Linked DNA regions of Homo sapiens: region 1 is linked to region 2. Evidence: promoter capture Hi-C in 16 types of primary human blood cells and fetal thymus (Javierre and others, 2016). All regions are on one chromosome and are shown on one strand. The core of a region is centred on a gene start or on the middle of the fragment in contact, and the rest is flanking DNA. Distances in the headings are between cores, read along the strand shown. Region 1 overlaps WDR26 (WD repeat domain 26). Region 2 holds the start of SDE2 (spliceosome associated SDE2).

The links. Contacts are between HindIII fragments. The CHiCAGO score rates a contact against its expected background, and 5 or more counts as called.
Region 1: a fragment that was not itself captured here is called in contact with the fragment with the promoter of SDE2 in region 2 in 1 of 17 cell types (neutrophils); the score reaches 5.7 in neutrophils.

What each region holds. Positions count from the first base shown.
Region 1 is chr1:224,423,496-224,429,410 of GRCh38, reverse strand. WDR26 (WD repeat domain 26) reads left to right here. Exons shown (of 14, transcript NM_001379403.1): 4 at 4,757-4,893. Among named protein-coding and RNA genes, the nearest start is that of WDR26, 8.3 kb to the left of the region's middle. RefSeq lists enhancers at 1-440, 441-1,030. The HindIII fragment of the contact is 1,029 bases long and covers 3,104-4,132 here.
Region 2 is chr1:225,995,816-226,001,394 of GRCh38, reverse strand. SDE2 (spliceosome associated SDE2) reads left to right here and starts at 2,052. Exons shown (of 7, transcript NM_152608.4): 1 at 2,052-2,202. The coding sequence starts at 2,083. RefSeq lists enhancers at 1,168-1,217, 1,298-1,397, 1,418-1,567, 2,088-2,197, 4,211-4,300 and 1 more and a silencer at 1,748-2,027. The HindIII fragment of the contact is 16,010 bases long and covers 1-2,861 here.

The DNA of each region.
Region 1 (5,915 bases), core at 2,369-4,868, 1.6 Mb after region 2:
GTATACCCAGACACATTTGATGGCTTAGTCTAGACTAAAATTGTACTTTATTTTTTAAGCCTGAATGTTTTCATTGACCCAATCCACTCTCTCTACAGCCTACTCCCTTTGTTTTTTTTGTCTGTTTGTTTGTTTTGTTTTTTTTTTTTTGAGATGGAGTCTCGCTCTGTCGCCCAGGCTGGAGTGCAGTGGCGCGATCTCGGCTCACTGCAACCTCGCCTCCCAGGTTCAAGCGATTCCACTGCCTCAGCCTCCGAAGTAGCTGGGACTACAGGCACATGCCACCATGCCCGGCTAATTTTTGTATTTTTAGTGTAGATGGGGTTTCACCATATTGGCCAAGCTGGTCCCGAACTCCTGACCTTGTGATCCGCCCGCCCCAGCCTTCCAAAGTGCTGGGATTACAGGTGTGAACCACTGCACCAGCTGTTTAAATGGTTTCCGATTAAATGGTACTAGGAATGGCAGAAGTTGCTTTCATGAATCAGCATTTTTTTTTTTTTTTTGAGATGGAGTTTCTCTTATTGCCCAGACTGGAGTGCAATGGCGCAATCTTGGCTCACTGCGACCTCTGCCTCCGGGGTTCAAGAGATTCTCCTGCCTCAGCCTCCCAAGTAGTTGGAATTACAGGTGTCCATCACCAAGCCTGGCTAATTTTTTTTTTTTTTGTATTTTTAGTAGAGATGGGTTTTCACCATGTTGGTCAGGCTGGTCTCGAACTCCTGACCTCAGGTGATCCACCCGCCTCAGCCTCGCAGAGTGCTGGGATTATAGGCGTGAGCCACCGTGCCGGGCCAAATCAGCATTTTTTAGTTTGGGTTCAAATATACTTCGCCATTTCTGGGCAATTTGGATGGGTATACGAGACCAATAATAGAAAACTTTTTTTATGTCTAGAAATATTTGGTTATTTTTTAATATAATGGAAATATGCTTAAGAAAAATTGGCATCTATAATTAACTAGTATATTTTAAAGTCAAATAGGAGTTTTGAGTGCCAAGTTTAGATATAATTTATTTCCCCTTTTCTCTGAGAAATCATGATTTAATTGATAAGATTTGGTTATGACCTTACTCCAGAGTTAGAACCATTACTGAATTAGCTAGGAGGCCGCCCTTGAGAACCAGACTTTCTAAGTATCGTAATTTCTGGGTTTTTCTTTCATGTTGAGTTCAGTTTAATAATATGGGAGCAAAGGAAGGAATAAAGCAATTCAGTATTGGGTGGACTAGGGGAGCAACAGCAGAATTTACGACGTGAAACTATCATTCAAGCTATCCTAGTCACTTAACAATTTCAAATTTATTAGATATTAAAATGGAGAAGGAGATCTTGCTGGGCCCAGAGATGGTAAAAAATCATTAGAGACCAGAAATAATCTCTTAAGAGATCTAGTTGGGAGTTGGGGAAAGACATAAAGGAGAGTTTATTTTCCTAATCTTTTTTTGTCTTTATTTCTTCAAGATTTTTTAAAAAATATAAACATTAGTAGAGCCCTGTCCCCATCTCAGCAAGCTTTAATTTTGTCTGATTTTTACAATGTTTTCAGTAAATATTTAACATTATTTGTTAATTAAAGGGTCTTTGCTTTCTTGAGGTTATATTTACATTTTTGTGCTTTAAATTTTGGGAGGTAAAATACAGTTTTACTCCCCACCCTTATCGTATGTGTCAAATACTTCAACTGATTTTTTGGAGAATAAACATTTTCTTTCAAACAGATCTCTAGCTGTGCTTGGCCAGCAGCATGTTAGTTGCCATGCACAATACCAGGATTTGATATCTGTTTGAGAATATTCTTGGTCTTGATCTGGATAAAATGACTCATAGAGAAATGCTCTTGTGCTACTTTTATAGCATTCCCTGTATATACAGAAATATGTGTTTATATTGGCTTCTCTCAGAGTTTTAGTCAGCCTTTCTCTGCTCTCCTGCCCCACCTCTGCCCCATAGAAAAAGAGTAACATGTTGTATCAAGATCTTGGTGGGAAAATAAGGGAGAAATAGCGCTTTGGGCACTGTCCCTGCACACATTGGAATGGGGGAGGGGTGGGCATAGGAGCCTAATGATTGATACCAAAAAAAATAAATATTAAGTAAATAAAAAACTTGCCCTGAAATTTTTTTTTAAGCCCCTCAATTCCCAATTACTAAGAAAATTTAGTGAAGAAATTACATCTCATGCTCTGGCCAGTTCCATGTGACATTTAAATGAAAAAGTTCTGCAACTGAATAAGATTTTCAAGTTTGAATTTAAAAAATACCACAAAATGGAATGAAACTTTTTTTTTTTTTTTTTTTTTTTGGAGACAGAGTTTTGCTCTCGTTGCCCAGGCTAGAGTGCAGTAGCACAATCTCGGCTCACTGCAACCTCCACCTTCCAGTTTCAATCGATTCTCCTGCCTCAGCCTCCGAAGTAGCTGGGATTACAGGCACCCGCTGCCACACCCAGCTAATTTTTTTGTATTTTTTTTTTTAGTAGAGACGGGGTTTCACCATGTTTGTCAGGCTGGTCTCGAACTGCTGACCTCGTGATCCACCCGCCTCAGCCTCCCAAAGTGCTGGGATTACAGGTGTGAGCCACCACACCCGGTGGAATGAAACTTTTAACATTATATTGATAAATGAAAATATATGAGGTCTTCATTTCATAGTTGCATTTTTTTCAGAAGCTAAAATGGTGCGAATATCCAGAATAACTTCAAATATAAAATTCTTTTATTTTTAGATTTTTTTTTTTTTTGCATTGTTTAGTTTTTGGTTTCTGTGACCTGATGAATGACAAAGTTTTTTCATTTAACATAGAAAGGTTAACTTCAGGCTGTATGTACAGTAATGTACTTTTCAGAGCATCTTGGTAATTAATGTATTTCTGAAACATTCATTAGTCATTCTAAATTTATATGTAAAATTTGATAAGTGTAATTTTCCCAGAGTTACAGGAGTGTCTCAGTTTGAATTTTTTTCTGTTCCTTAGCCGTATATTTAAGATGAGATTTGTATCAAGCAAAAGAAATGTATCTTATAAATTTAAATACATGCCTAACTTATATGAGAGGGTTTATTATTGCTTACTTTCTCTAGAAACCACTTTTATAAGCTTACAGTTTATATCTCTCTTCTAAATACTCCTTGATAGAAAATCTTGTAGAGCAGTTTATTATACTGTTAATTCTGCAAATAAATGGTAATTTCTCCACAGCATTTCGTGACAGCAGTGTATTTTTTTATGGTTTTAAAGTAAGCATTTTGGGCCGGGTGCGGTGTCTCATGCCTGTAATCCCAGCACTTTGGGAGGCCAAGGTGGGCAGATCACTTGAGGTCAGGAGTTCAAGACCAGCCTGGCCAACATGGCAAAACCCTGTCTCTACTAAAAATACAAAAATTAGCTGGGTGTGGTGGCGGGTGCCTGTAATCCCAGCTACTTAGGAGGCTGAGGCAGGAGAATCGCGTGAACCCAGGAGGCAGAGGTTGTAGTAAGCCAAGATCACGCCACTGCACTCTAGCCTGGGCCACAGTGAGACTCTGTCTCAAAAAAAAAAGAAGAAAAGCATCTTACGAAGAAGAAAAATTGTACTTTAAGTTTTAATTTTAAGTGGACTTGAGATCTTTACCGCTGTATTCCTTGGAGTCTCTAAATATGACTAACATTTCCTACCTACTGATGTCTCTGTTTACATTAATTGGCTTGCTCAAGCTCCACAAGTAGCAACTATGATGAAAAGGTCCCTCCAACCTGTGGTCCTTAATTAGGTTTAAGGTTTAAAAGAAGTTTCAAAATGATGTTTATAAATATCCCTTTTCTCTTGTAAAAAACTGCTAAGATTGTGACCACGTGGTTTCAAGTTAAAAGTAAAATAATAAAGTAGCATTTAAAAGTATTAAAGTCAAAAACACAGTTCAGGAAAAAACTAAATGTGAAAGTGTCTCACAGCTGGAAAGTGGTTTATTGGTTTAGGGGAGAAAAGAGCGAATAATAATTTCCTGTGCTTCACTTTTAAATGCATCAGTGATCAGATTGTCAGAAATACACAAGTACAAATATTGAATCTTTTTAAAAACCTTTAAGTTCAACCATCTAACGTAGACATCCCTTAATAGCCGCCTAGAAGAGAGTGAGTGCATCAAGCTTATGCTTGTCCACGTTAGTTGTAGGAAATTCAATACTTTGCACACCAACTTGTAGTACATTTGTTGGACAGCTCTTAACTTTTGATAAGCCAAAATATACTTTTCTCCTTCTCCTGAGTGTGTCTAGTTCTGATTTCTGGTCTACTTATTCCCTCTTTCACATTGTGACTTAAATAGTTCATTTGCTATTTTTTTCTCTAATCTTTTCAAAACTTGTTGCATAAAACCCCCCAGTGCCCTAGTTATAAAGTCATACTTCTTAAAAAGCAAATTTCAAGTACTTGGAATAGTTCTAAATTTTTATACAAGAACTACAATTGTAGGAGATTGCTTTGAGAGGAGAATTCATTTTTTCCAAGGCTGATGCCTCAGTCACTAATGATCTAGTCTGATTTGAGATTATTTGTTCAAAGCAGAGTTTTAGTAAGATGTGGAATTGAGCAAAGTCACATTTAATCTACTGTGGCTCTACTAAACTAAAATATTTTGAGTCATCTTGAAGCTTTATAAAAAGTTATTTCAAAGGGCATAGTAGAATGGTTTCTACTGTTCTGTTTAGGCACAAACATTTTCTGAAACTTCCATCAACTTTTTTCCCCTGACTGCTGCTTTCTGTCATGTCAGAGGATGAAGTTTTTGCTGCTGCAGCAGAAGTACCTAGAATACCTGGAGGATGGCAAGGTCCTGGAGGCACTTCAAGTTCTACGCTGTGAATTGACGCCGCTGAAATACAATACAGAGCGCATTCATGTTCTTAGTGGGTAAGGAAACTGAGTTCTTGAACTCAGGTTAATGGAGGGCCAAAGTTATATTTCTTTAACATTTTTCCAAAATATAAAATCTTGATTATTGCTAAATTCTTAGATATTTGTCTAGGTAAACTCACTCCTGTGTGGATCAACTATTTTGGTCATTCTAGGAAACTGTTCAGATTAGGATAGAGATATATTTAAGTGGGTGAAAGGGAGAAGAAAATATGTATTGCCTGTGAAATGCTATTTTAGAATGTTCTATGAAAACCCTATTACATTCCAAGGACAGCTTTTGTAGTTAAAAACAAAATAAAAATCATATGATATGGATCACAGTAAACAATGACATTTCCAGTATTGGTGCACACTAACTTTTTTAAGTGAATACTTGTCATGTGCCAGGCCCTTGCTAAGCTTTTCACATAAACAGCCTCATTTAATCCTCACATCAACATCAGTCCTTTTTTGGGGGGTGAAGGGTAGAGACAGGGTCTTACAGTGTTGTCCAGTGTGATCTCAAACTCCTGTGATCTTCCCAGAGTGCAGGGATTACAGGCATGAGTCACTGTACCTCGCCACATTAATCCTTAAAATGTTAGAGTACCCAAAGGTTTGATCCTGGGCCTCTTTATTCTCTATCTACATACTCTTTTTAGGTAATCTCATTCTATACCATGCCTTCACATACTATCTGTATACCAGTGGCTCTTAAATTTAGCTTCTCATCTGAACTCCCAATATGTATATCTACTGGCATACCTGACATTCTCCACTTGGATGTTTAATAGATGTCTCAGTTGTATGAGGCTGGTGTGCAGTGGCACAATCATAGATCACTGCCACCTCTAGTTTCTGGGCTCAAGCCATCCTCCTGCCTCACCCTCCTAAGTAGGTAGGATTTCAGGCATGTACCACCACATGTGGCTAATTTTTTCATTTTTTGTAGAGACAGGTCTCGCTATGTTGCCCAGGCTGGCCTTGAACTCCTCCTAACCTTAAGCAATCCACCTGCTTCGGCCTCCCAAGGTGCT
Region 2 (5,579 bases), core at 803-3,302:
GTGTGGTGGCATGCACCTGTAATCCATCTGGAGTCTGTGGCAGATCACTTGAGCCCAGGAGTTCAAGGCTGCGTGTGCTATGATTGCGCCACTACACTCCAGCCCAGGTGGCAGAGCGAGTGTCTCAAAAAAGAAAGAAAGAAAGAAAAAAAAGACTAATCATAATAATTCCTCACAAGACACGAAGCATTATCCCGACACAAAAAATGTTTTGGAAACCCAAACTGACCTTTATACAGTTACTTGTAGGATCTCAGACCTTTGAAATGGTCATTTAAAAAAATTATTTATTTATTTGAAATAGTCATTTTTGATCACCAGAAGGAAGAAATCACAAATAAAAAAAGAAGAGGCTTAAGGCTCAGATCTGTAGATTACTTTTTCAGGAACCTGGAGGACAGAGAGCTGGGGAGCAGACTGCAGAGGGACTTGAGGTTTCTGGAGTTTGGACGGCTTACATGTAACCTGGCGACACCTTCACGCCCCAGGGTTGCCATGGCACCACCTTTCCGAAATACTGCTTCCTAGGTACAATATATCTTTTTTTTCTGAAACGGAGACTCTCTCTGTCGCCCAGGCTGGAGTGCGATGGCACGATCTCAGCTCACTGCAACCTCTGCCTCCCGGGTTCAAGCGATTCTCCTGCCTCAGCCTCCTGAATAGCTGGGATTACAGACGCGCACCACCACGCCCGGCTAATTATTGTATTTTTAGTAGAGATGGGGTTTCACCATGTTGGTGAGGCTGGTTTCGAACTCCTGACCTCGAGATCCGCCCGCCTCAGTCTCCCAAAGTGCTGGATTACAGGCATGAGCCACCGCGCCCGGCCAGTACAATCTATCTTTATTATTTTTTTTTTTGTAATTTTTATTTATCTACTGGCATCCCCATGGAGGCCCTTTCTCTCCCCAACTTTCCCTCGTGTGTGAAATAAAGACCACTGAATCTATTAACTTCCCAGGCCTTGAAATTCCATTTTCGCACATACTGCCACCGCTAAACGATTTCTGAATTTTTTGTTGTTACCCCCTCAGCTAGGAGTTCCATTTGCCAAGCATTTTAACAGCAGAGAAGGCAATTCTGTGGGCCGATGCATTTGTGTTTAGCAGGCACAGATATCTCCAAATAACCTTCCTATCTTCACACTGGTGGCTTTTGAATTGTTCAGGGTTTTAGAAATACCATAATCTCATTCTGTTAAATATTAAGGGACTCTTTCGGATTCCCTGAGCCTTAAGGTTACGTTATGCAAATCTGTCCGAGTGTGTTTCCATGGTGCAGAATAAAAGTTATGGTAGGGTTTTTTGAAGCAGCATGACTATAAACGTCACTCCTGTCACTGCCTTTCACAAGAGCCCACTTGCTGTGAAATATTTTGAAAACAGAGCTGAAGTGGAGATAACGCAGTGCACAAACAGGCGGAAATAAGAATAAACCGTGCGTGGCAGGCAGAAACCCGGAGGTTGGCTGTTTCTGGAGGGGAAGAGAAGGCTCTGTAAAGCTGGAGGAGAAACCACGCCGGCCACTGTTTAGGGGCCTCCTGGGGGTCGTTTCCCTTGCCCCCTCGGGTTGGGGAGCTCCTCTAGGCCAAGGAAGCGGCCCCCTAAAACCGCTTCCGGGACTGCAGCTTCTCTCCCCACACTCTCAAGGAGCAGAGCCTTCTCGGGCCACAATTCTCCGCGACCCAAAAATAACTACACAGATGTGAGGAAAAGGGCCAAAGCCTACAGCACAAGGTGGTTCTCAGTTAAAGCCTTATCGCTTACGGCCAGGAAGCTCGAAACCTAACCCAGCGCCAGCCTTTTATAGCCGGTCCCTCGAGCCCCGCCCTAGCAACTTCTCCTAGCAACGCCTCGCCCCGTGCTCTGCCGCCTTATCTGCCTCCGCCAGGCCTTTCCTGTTCCCCTCCCCCAGCCCGCACCGCCCCGCCGCCCGGCTCACTTGACCCGCCCCAGGGGAGGGGAGGGGTGAACGGAAGCGTGAGGGGCGGGGCGTTGGAAGATGCTCGCGTCATCAAGAGGCGCCGGGCGAGTTGCGGCGCCTGGTGTCTCAGAGAGGCTTGAGGTTCGGGTAGTCGGTGACATGGCGGAGGCCGCGGCGCTGGTGTGGATTCGCGGCCCTGGCTTCGGGTGCAAGGCGGTGCGGTGTGCCTCGGGTCGGTGCACCGTCCGGGATTTTATCCACCGGCACTGCCAAGATCAGGTGAGGATTTCGGTTCCTGTTAGGAAGGAGAAAGAGGCAGACAGGTGGCAGCGCTGGGTGCGGAGTAGGTCTGTCCGGGGCGGGGGTACGTTTATTCTCTGGGGTTTTCACTCGTTGAGGCTGAGAGTTCCTCAGTGTTAAGGTGCTTCGAATTGTTACTGAGACCTTCCTTTGCTTTTCTTTTGTGGTGGTGGTTTTGCCTTCCCACCAAGAGGGAGAAAAAAACTGTTACAGGCACTTAGTCCCGCTCACAGTTACAAATACTTTGTTTCTCTTTCTTTATCCGTAAATATAATGGTCTTCTGGCAGTTGGGCCGGCTGATTTTTAAGGCTCCAGTCTTCACCTTCTTACTATGGTTATGTGACGTGTATTTTGTCCACTCATCACACAGCCTTGTTAGCCCCAGCCTAGAGAAGTATGTCATATCCAAACCCAGGCCAAAGGATGATTGGGAAGGAAAATTGATTCTTCTGGTCAGTCGTTGTGACCAAGCATTCACACGTGTGTCCTGTTGAGGGCCTGGGTTCTTAGGGCCTGTTACGTAGAAGTGTTCACTATTAATTTGATGGTCTCATTTGTCCGTGCATATTTGTGAAAACCTACCAGGGACTTCCAGAGTTACACGTGAGCTTTTACTGAACTTTCAAGTAAGTAAGCTTTTACCAGCTATAAGATATTAAACCTGTTCAGTTGTCAAAAGAATTTAGTGGTTTCCCTGAATCTAATTTTAATGTTGGCACTTGATCTAGAACTCTGTTCTTTCCGCACCTCATCCGTGCTTTCCTCGGCTATTTCCTCTGCTTACTATTTATAAGCTTAACAAATGTTAACACTGCAGTCTAGACCAAAATTTTAAGAGACTTGGATCGATTCCGTGAAGAAGCAATGTGTGTTTGCAAATAATACGGTTTTTCACTTTCCATGTTTTCCTTCCTGCTCTGTAATCCAGTCTAAAAACTGTAAGCACAACTGTTTTTGACCATGAAAATAATTGCATTCTAATTCCTTTGAAAATAATTCTTATTTCATGAGTACAGTGTTCTTTTCTCCCCCTCCCCCACCCCCGACGGAGTTTGACTCCCGTTGCCCGGGCTGGAGTGCAATGGCGTGATCTCGGCCCACTGCAACCTCCGCCTCGCTGAGTTCAAGCGGTTCTCCTGCCTCAGCCTCCCAAATAGCTGGGATTGCAGTCGCCCGCCACCATGCCTGGCTAATTTTTGTATTTTTAGTAGAGACGGGGTTTCACCACGTTGGCCAGGTCTTGAACTCCTGACCTCGGGTGATCCGCCCACCTCAGCCTCACAAAGTGCTGGGATTACAGGCTTGAGCCACTCCTCCCGGCCTATGAGTACAGTTTTCAAACTTGCTGACAATTGATCCAAAGTGAAACCAGAAAAAATAGGATCTTAATCATGAGGTATGTTGGAAAAAAGAATTTTTAAATCGGAAGCAAGAAATATAGGCCAGGCGTGGTGGCTCACGCCTGTAATTCCAACACTTAGGGAGGTCGAGGCGGGCAGATCACCTGAGGTCAGAAGTTCGAGACCAGCTTGGCAACATGGTGAAACCCCATCTCTCCTAAAAATACACAAAAATTAGCCAGGCGTGGCGGCAGACGCCTGTAATCCCAGCTACCCAGGAGGCTGAAGCAGAAGAATCATTTGAACCTGAGAGGTGGAGGTTGCAGTGAGCCGAGATTGAGCCATTGCACTCCAAACTGGGTGACAGAGCAAGACTCGGTCTGAAAAAGTATATATAAAGAAATATAAATGAGTGGATTCAGTCAGAAACTTAAGGAACATGACCATAGCAAATATGAATAGAAACACAAAAGAATATTAGTTGAGATACTGGAACAAGTAAGAATAGCTCAAGTTCACACCTATGTTTTTAAAAACAAAACTATTCTGAGACATGATGAAGTTAGTGTTAACTCCCACTGAGAAAATAAAAATCTGCCCTGCTTTTCATCAGGCTGGGATAACAGACACAGATAAAGCCAGCTGCAAAGTTTTTGTTTTTTGTTTTTGTTTCCCCCACACTACACCGATGTACAGCTGCAGAGTTAACAGGAAATGGTGATGTGTCATAATGTCATAACGACCCCCACGAAGGTCTGCTGCTTTCTTATTCACTGAGAAACCTTGGTCTCAAAAACCATAGAATATATAAGAAATTTTGCTGTTTAAAGTTCTCTCAATAAGAGGGAACCTTCCCACTCTTGCCTTGTAGAGAAGCATTCTTGATTTCCAACCCAGGTCAGAGCTTCCCATTAAGGGTTTCTGGACACAACTTTCCACATTTATCTTAAATTTGTAGTTTCCAAGGAAAGAGGAGCCTTCACAATCCAGATCTGATGTTGACGTTTTTATATACAGTCCTGCTTTATTTTGAACCTTTTTAAACACTGCTTGATGTAAATTTCACCTCAACTCCACCCTAGCCCCAAATCTTGTAATGACACTCCTTTCTTTGGGTTGGTGAGATACCCATGACTCCTGGTGTGCAGTTCCCCTCGTTGCAGTGAATCAGTAAGTTTGACAGGTTTATCTCTGATAGCCTTAGGCTGGTTGTGCTAAAACACACATGATAATTTGTGTTTGAAGCACTTTACAATGCACAAATGGTTAAAAGCAGTTAAATTGAGTCTAAATGTTGTATCCTTTTTTCTGCTTGTGACTTCATTGACAAGAATCTTAAGTAGAAAATGCAATTTTGTTGATCAGTTGTTTTGTTTAATAAGCCATTCTGTTTGGAAATGAAGTATACATCATTTTCATGGTGTATACTTTCTGCCTTCATATTAATATCTTTTAAAATTATTTAGAAATACCATACCCATTAGACATACAAAAGGCTTCTAATGTGTAAACATTAAACAGATACAAAATGTATTACATATCTCATTTAATGTTTACAACAGCTCTTTGAGGTAGACAGTATTTTAAAGACAAGAATAGTCGTTCATGTTACCTCATTGCAGATAGCCTGAGCTCCCTTGCTCCTCTCTCCCGCCATTATATTTGTCTGGGAGAACCCCAGACAGCATAAATCCATCTCTCCACCTGTTCTGCCCTGGCATCTGGGCAGTGACTGTGATAGAGAACTATAATCACATAGCTCAGTCTCCATACATCCACCAGCCTGGTGCTGCTTGGTAATTCTGTATTTCCTTGGTCCAGAGTGGGCTTTTACTGGGTTACAGGACTGCTTAGAGTATTGATTCATGTAGGCTCTGGGGCAGCTACACAGAATCTGGGGCTGCCCAGCATCTTAGGCTATCTTCAGCAACTTTGCTCATTTTTGCTCATTTTTCATGTATTTATGTCTCCTATGGTGTACTTATATAGGTGTATTAAAAACCACACTCTTGACT